Linked DNA regions of Homo sapiens: region 2 is linked to region 1. The links are contacts of gene promoters, found by promoter capture Hi-C in blood cells and fetal thymus (Javierre and others, 2016). All regions are on one chromosome and are shown on one strand. Each heading gives the region's core, a stretch centred on a gene start or on the middle of the fragment in contact. The rest is flanking DNA. Distances are from core to core; before and after follow the strand shown. Region 1 holds the start of AVPI1 (arginine vasopressin induced 1). Region 2 holds the start of ENTPD7 (ectonucleoside triphosphate diphosphohydrolase 7).

Evidence for each region. The method cuts DNA at HindIII sites, captures the fragments that hold promoters and counts their contacts. A CHiCAGO score of 5 or more calls a contact.
Region 2: the fragment with the promoter of ENTPD7 here is called in contact with the fragment with the promoter of AVPI1 in region 1 in 1 of 17 cell types (non-activated CD4 T cells); the score reaches 5.9 in non-activated CD4 T cells.

Annotation. Positions count from the first base shown.
Region 1 is chr10:97,685,251-97,688,850 of GRCh38, forward strand. AVPI1 (arginine vasopressin induced 1) reads right to left here and starts at 1,991. Exons shown (of 3, transcript NM_021732.3): 1 at 1,516-1,991. RefSeq lists enhancers at 1,128-2,081, 1,815-3,014, 2,082-3,035 and a silencer at 1,978-2,357. The HindIII fragment of the contact is 1,235 bases long and covers 881-2,115 here.
Region 2 is chr10:99,657,524-99,661,123 of GRCh38, forward strand. ENTPD7 (ectonucleoside triphosphate diphosphohydrolase 7) reads left to right here and starts at 1,986. Exons shown (of 13, transcript NM_020354.5): 1 at 1,986-2,065; 2 at 2,339-2,441. The coding sequence starts at 2,434. It also overlaps a transcript of SLC25A28 not described here. RefSeq lists silencers at 1,665-1,874, 1,995-2,214. The HindIII fragment of the contact is 2,116 bases long and covers 758-2,873 here.

The sequences.
Region 1 (3,600 bases), core at 741-3,240:
CAAAGTTCAACTTGTTTTGAAACAGGCAATAAGTGAAGAACTGTGGAACCCTAACAAAGAAATATATTTAAAAAGTGACTCACCATGCAATGAATTTGCAATATATAAATATGGCGCGCAATTGAGCACTCTTTGCAATATATGAAGTTCAGTTCAGACAGCTATTCTAGGAGAGTATCTCACTGCAGTCCCAGGGAGGCACAGGTAACCACCAGAGGCAGAACACATTTGGGTGAGCTGGCAACTCCTAGGTCCTCATGCAGGAGGAGGCCCCCTTCCAATAACCCAGGTGATAGCAATAATCTCTGTAATCAGGGGCCTAGGGGCTCTTAGAAAAATTACTGGAGGCTCTGGCCCAAGGCCTGAATCAACACTTGGGACCCTGGCCTGCTATCCTATACAGACATGCCACTGGACAGCAGCCAAAATCTGTGGCTCCTCAAATGGGAAGCCCAGTTCAAATCGCTGTGTGGGCTTCCCCACCAGCAGGGCCTAGCCTCAGGGAGGTATGCCGAGACAACTGGATATACATTGGCCTCCAAATCCATGCCCCTGGAGGTGGAGAAAGGAACTGGGCCCTTTCCCCAGACCAGTTCTCATATATGACCTGGAAATAAACTGCTACTAGATCTAGGGATAACCCTTTCAAGATTTCTAGAACCCTGAATTCTGGCTGTGCTGCTAACTGGGTGACCTTGGATAAGTCTCAGTTTCCCCTGCCACAAGTTGCTCGTCATCAAAATAGTATAAGGCCAGGCCTGGTGGCTCACGCCTGTAATCCCAGCACTTTGGGAGGCTGAGGTGGGAGGATTGCTTGAGCCCAGGAGTTCCAGACCAGCCTGGTCAACATAGCAAGACTGCCTCTATAAAATTTTAAATAAGCTTTTTAAAATAAATGGTGAGTATAAATAACTCTTAACAGGAAAAGGGAGATTAAGTTTGTGACGGCATTCCTTCTAGTACCTGGTATACCACAGACATTCTATGCATGCTGGTTGAATGAATAAATGATGAAGGGAAAGGCTGTTTGACTACCAGGGGCTATAGAATCATTGTCATTTTCATCATCACAGCCATCAACAAATCTGTGTACTTTTAAATCATAGCTTTATGATTAAAATCATAGAGGCAGCTTGTTCAGTGTCAAGCGCAGAACAGAGCACGTTCAGATGGGTGCTTTCTTTCCTCCTCACTTAAGGTGGCACTATTGTTATACCCATTTTACAGATGAGAAAGCTACACCCAAAGTCACACAGCTGGCAGGTGATGGAAGCTGGGACATGAACCCAGGCAGTCTGACCCCAGCACCCGGGCTCTCAAGCCACTGTTATTTTTGTTCCTGCCAGATGGCTGAGGAGGTCTTCTGGGGAAGGTCGGTCCCAGAAGCCTTTCGGAGGCTATCTGCTTCTGTAGATTGTGGAAGGAGCAGGGAGGGATCCAAAGTCAGGACTCCCAAGCTAGCCTCTGTACCCTCTGCACTCCACTGCCCGGTGGAGAATTGGAGCAGGTACTCACCACACTGAAGGGCAGCTCCGACAGACCTCAAATGGGGATGGGGCAAGCTAAGATGCGCCCACTCCAACCTCTTCCACAGCCTTCAGAAAGGGCAGGCGCAGCTCTGCGAAGGTGCTTACAAGGGCCAGTCGGTGATCACGGGCAGCACAAGAGCATGGCAGAGGGTATCCTGGCCGAGGTCCTAAGGCGACATCTGCAGCACGAGGAGGCCCCGGGACTCAGACGTGGCCGCTTCGCAGAACGACGGGGTCCTAAGTGGATCTGGCGGTCGCGTCCCGCTGGCACCCCGGCTCTGACTGTCGCCCTCCGGCTCCCACCGCAGCGCCGAGCTGGGCCGCCGACCTACGTACCTGGTTGCTTGAGGCAGGCCGCACGCAGCCCCAAACTGGTCCGGGCCACTTGGGTCACAGCCGCGGTTCCCGGGAGAAAGCGCTCCCTAGCCCCGGAACAGCCAATCCTCGGCCCTAGCCAGGTATGAGCTCCCAGGCGAGCCTTCCAAACCCAAGGCGGAGTTCCGTGCGCCAATCATCGGTGGGAGACAGGGAGGGGGCGTGTCCATCCCCGCCCCCCGCCTCCGCTGGCCTCGAAAGCGGAGTGCGAAGCTTCCTCAAACCTAATCGGCGGCGGAGCGGCGGTGAGGGGGCGTGTCTGCCCGGGCCCTGCCCACCGCCCTCTCCGCCCCCGCGCGGCGCCCGAGGCGCCCCCTTCATTGACGTCAGTCCCCAGGGCCAGCGCGGTTTTGCTGGCGCGGGAGCTGGGCGGGGCTGCATTCCTGCCCCAGGGTGCGGCGAAAGCTGGCCCTGCCGGGTACACGTGACGGATGCCCCTTCTCCTGGGCCCGAGGCCAGCGCGCGCGGCACTGACTGCCTTGCAGCGCGTGGCCCTCTGCAGATCCTCAGACTCTGCCGCTCAAGTCCCCTCCCAGCCCACCGTTTGGCTCCGGCTTTGAGGGAGAGGAGGGGGCAGTCTGCTGGAGTCAGACCTTGGGCTTCAAAGCCAGAATGTCGTGGGTTCAAATATTGGGTCATTTGTGCGACTTTGGGCCGGTTACCTAAACAAGACCGTATTTTAAAGTTTGTATGCATTCGGAAATGTTCATTAGTGACCTATGCTGTCCGAGTTCCTTGATAGGCCGTAAACAAGAGAGACGGAAAGACCTATAGCCCTTGTCCTGGGGAGTCTACAGCCTAGTAAGGGAGGCAGGCATTAAACAACCTAAAACATGGAGTATGTGATTACAGTTGTGATCAATGTTATGGCTATAAGAGGATAAATATGGAGGAACCTAAGCTTCCTCTGGGAGGTTCAGGAGGGCTGAAGAAGCAGCATTTAAGCTGAGATATAAAGAAGGAGTTGAAACTGGTCAAATGAAGAGGAGTGGATCTGGGGAGACTGCTTTAAGGAAAGAGGGAAAGGCATTTGGTTGGGCCAGGAGGTAGCTTGGCTCCGGAGGAATTAAATGCGACCCGGAGTAAGGCTAGCAAGAGAGAGCACGGTGGGAAGTAGAAGGCAGAGGCAGGCAGAGAAGGTTGCATGTGATCCTTGGAGGGGTTTAAACAAGGAATGGCATTATATGTACTGTGTTTATGTAACGGGCATTTTATAGTACTTACCACGTACCAGTAGTGTCAGTCAGCACTTTGCAAATTTCATCATCATGACAAGTTTGTGTTTTTAGAAGGTCACTCTGGCTGCAGTTTGGAACTTGGATTGGAGGGGGCAGGAGTGGAGGCAGGGTGTCCAGTAGGCCTCTGATAAATGCTTGTTTTGTCCTTGGAAGATGAAGTGTTTGTGCACTTGTTCAGCAATGCTCAGGAAAGGCTCCTGGGTCTCCCTGACTTCCTTTTTACTTCATAGCTGACCTCTTATCCATTTAAGCTTGATTTTTCTTCTGTAAAAGTTGTGGGTGGGAAGGGGAAGAGCCAGCACATGGGGCTTTGTGAATTCCTTGTTGCAGCGTGAAGGGGATGCTTGGGAGCTATTTGTCCTCACCCCATGATCTCCAGTTCCTCTCTCTGTCCTTCTGCACAAAAACAGCGTAAGTGTTGTTGTGCTGTGGCTAAAAGGGTTTTTTGTTTTGTATTT
Region 2 (3,600 bases), core at 736-3,235, 2.0 Mb after region 1:
AATTGAAGAAGAAAGGCAAATTAGGAAGTTCAACAAGGTTAGGAGAGTAGTGGAGCCAAAAAAACAATAGTCATGAGAACTGAATATAGAAACTGGACAATGGCTAGATCTTATATGACAATTAGAACTCTGACCCACAACCTCTACAGCAACCAGCCGAGAATAATCAGGACTTGGTCAATGACTCAGTTTCCCTGTTTTTTGCCGCCTCCTTTCTTCAACTCAGAACCCACTAAAGACAGCCAAATATGCTACCTACCCCAAACCAATCACCTAAGAGACACTACTTTTGTTAGCCCACCTCCAGCTTTCCCATGCTAATACCCTCAAGTCAGAGTATACATGAAACCTTCCCTTTTTGTTCACTACTAAGCTTTCCTGGCCAGGTGCAGCTGCTCATCCCTGTAATCCCAGCACTTTGGGAGGCTGAGACAGGAAGACTGCTTGAGCCCAGGAGTTCAAGACCAGCCTGGACAACATAGTGAGACTCCATCTCTACAAAGAATTAAAAAAAAATAAGCTGGGCATGGTGGCACGTGCCTGTAGAGCCAGCTACTCAGGAGGTTGAGGTGGGAGGATCGCTTGCTCAGGAGGTCGAGGCTGCAGTGAACCACGATCGCACCACTGCACTCCAGCCTGGATGACAACAGAGTGAGACCCTGTAGGTAATTAAGTAAGTAAGTAGTTTTCCTAATGTCCTGACAGGCTTTGAGTCGGCCAAATGCAAGTGATGGTGACTGACTCCCTTGTCATAGTAAGCTTTGAATAAATAAAGCATTTGGGTGGTCTTCCTCCCCGATCCCCCCCATTCATTCATTTGCTTATTAATTATACATTAGTTGTGTTTTATCTGCCAGGCAGTGGCCAGTATTGGGAATATGTGGAAGCAAATAGTCCCTGCCTTCAAGGATATTCTGTCTAGTGGGACAGACAGACAGACATATACGTATAATAGTAATTCAACGTGCTAAGTGAAACAATAGGCATGTATAAAAAAGGTGTAGTAGGTCAAGTAGGGCTTTTAGGGGAAGGCGACCCTTAAGATGGGTGGTAAGGGATGAGTAGGAGGTGATTTGGCTAAGAGGCTGGGACGGTTATTCAAGGCAGGTGGAGGGGCAGAATGAGCAAAACAGGACGCGTTGCTGGAGCGTGGTAAGGAAGGCAAGTAGCGGCAGAGGACGGCGGTAGGGCGGATCGTGGGGCGCAATGGATGTGCCACGTTGGAAAGAGCTTGGACTTTATGCCGTCCTCCTGGAAATGAGATAACGGCTGGTGTAAGCAAGAAAGAAACACACACACACCCACGCGCGCGCGTCGTTTCCTTTGTGTTACTGTAAGGTCAAGGAGGGCGGCGACACAGAAATTCATGATGACTGGCATAAGCAGACATTCAATGAATGAATGAATGGACATAAGCACTTTGGTGTAAACGTCATTGTCTTCGATTTCTGTTTTCTCACGGGGCAAGACAGTGAGGTCGGGGCATCAGTTTGGGAGGTGATAGGGAAGGTTTAAGGTGAGAGAACTGCCATTCTGGTAGGGAGGGTCAGTGGGCACAAAACCAACAATAGGTTATGGGCAAGGGATGCGCTTCGGTCGCGAACACCCTGAACCCACCTACCGGAGCTACTCTGTCCCAGGAGCGGCCGTGGAGAAAGCAACCAGCCGAGAGTTCGCGCCCCAGGGAGGGAAGCGGGCACAGGGCCGCCCAGCGCCACTCACCTGTGAGCTCTCCGCGGGCCCTGCAGGCGGAGCCTCGGTACGACGCCTTTCCGATTGGGCGCGGCTCAAAGTCCCGGGGCGGGCATCAGAGGCCGAGCGCTCTAGGGGATTGGCCACCCTGGCGGACGGACGTGCTGCTGACCGAGCTGGTTCGCCCCCGGTTCGGCTCGTGGAGAGCCGGCCCCTCCGTGAGTCTTCTGTCAGTCATTGGCTCCCTGCGGTTTCCTTGGGGACGTGGCGCCGCCGCCGGCCGGGCCCTCCTTCCGGCTGGGCAAGGGGCCGCGGGGAGCAGCTCGGGACTGAACCGAGAGGTGCCGAAGGAACCGGCGGGCCGCTTGATCCCGTGAGTGTGGGCGCGAGAGGGCTGTGGGACCCGGAGGGACGGGGAGAGGAAGCGGGACCCACACCCCGCCACCTGGGGACGACCGGTTCCTAGAGGACAGAGCTGGCCCACGAGAACGCCCCGCTCCCAGGATGCCCGGGTAGGGTCCCCTGGGCCTGAGGAACCAGAGCAGACGGAGCGGGAGCCTGGGGAGGAGGTGGGAGCCGTGGAATTCCCGTGCAGGTTTGTCTCGTGGGCTCAGTCGGACAGAAGCCTGAAATCAAATCTTTCTAGGCTGCAGACGTAGGAGATGCCTGGGACAAGGAGGCCACCTTCTCAGGGCAAAAGAAAAAGAAGGTGACAGGCGTTGAGACCACCGAAGGGAACCCATGGCTAGGTAAGGCTGCACACTTTCCCTCCGGCTGGGAGCACGGCAGAGGATGGCAGGCAGGTTGGGGGGCCCTGGGAGGCTGTCCCAAGTGAGGTTTGCCCTGGAGCTGCACTTGGACTTTGTATTCTGGTTAGTTGGATGCAGAGACGATCAAAGTTGTATTATTTCGAGGGCTGATAAATAATAGTTTCTAGCCCATAGACCAGGAGTGGTAGAGTGAGTCGGCTTGCTCAGCTCTGTAAAGTGCAAGGTTGTAACATTGATTCAGATTCGCATCTGAGCAAGGCTAGGTGCCACTTGAGGAGGTTAAACAAAGAAGTTTTTTTGTTTTTTGTTTGCAGTGAACTTTAAAAGCAGACAGACCGAGGTCCTTTTGAATCAATATACAAAGTGAACTTCACAGATGAATACACTTATCCATACATTATAATAACCTGAAGCTTTTAAAAAATATTAATGTGGATCTACATGCACCAATAAGGGAAAGTTATAAAATAAAGTGGGGGAAAGATGCAGAACAGCAGGTATGGTGGACTACCATTTGTGTAAAACCGAGGGAATGGATACGCACACACACACACACACACACACACACACACACACAGAGATATATTACTGTAAATATATTGGTGTATATTTATGCTTGTGTATCCGTAGAATATCCCTGGAAAGATACACAGCAACGGCCAGGTGCAGTAGCTCACGCCTGTAATCCCAGCACTTTGGGAGGCCAAGGCAGGCAGATCACCTGAGGTCAGGAGTTCAGGACCAGCCTGGCCAAGTAGAAACCCGGTCTCTACTAAAAATACGAAAATTAGCCGGGTGTGGTGGCAGTCACCTGTAATCCCAGCTACTGGGGAGGCTGAGGGAGAAGAATCGCTTGAACCCAGGAGGTGGAGGTTGCAGTGAGCTGAGATTGCGCTACTACACTCCAGCCTGGGCAACAGAGCAAGACTCCATCTCAAAAAAAAAAAAAATTACACAGCAACTGGGTAGTAATGTTTGCCTCTGAGAGATTGTGGGGTCAGGGCAAGAATCACTTTTCACTATACAATATATCCTTTTAAACTGATTTGTCTTTTACTATGTGCTTGTATAATCTGGTAAAACATTTTTAAAATCAGTTAAATAAATTTTCTGACCATCCTGTTTCTTGACAGAATTC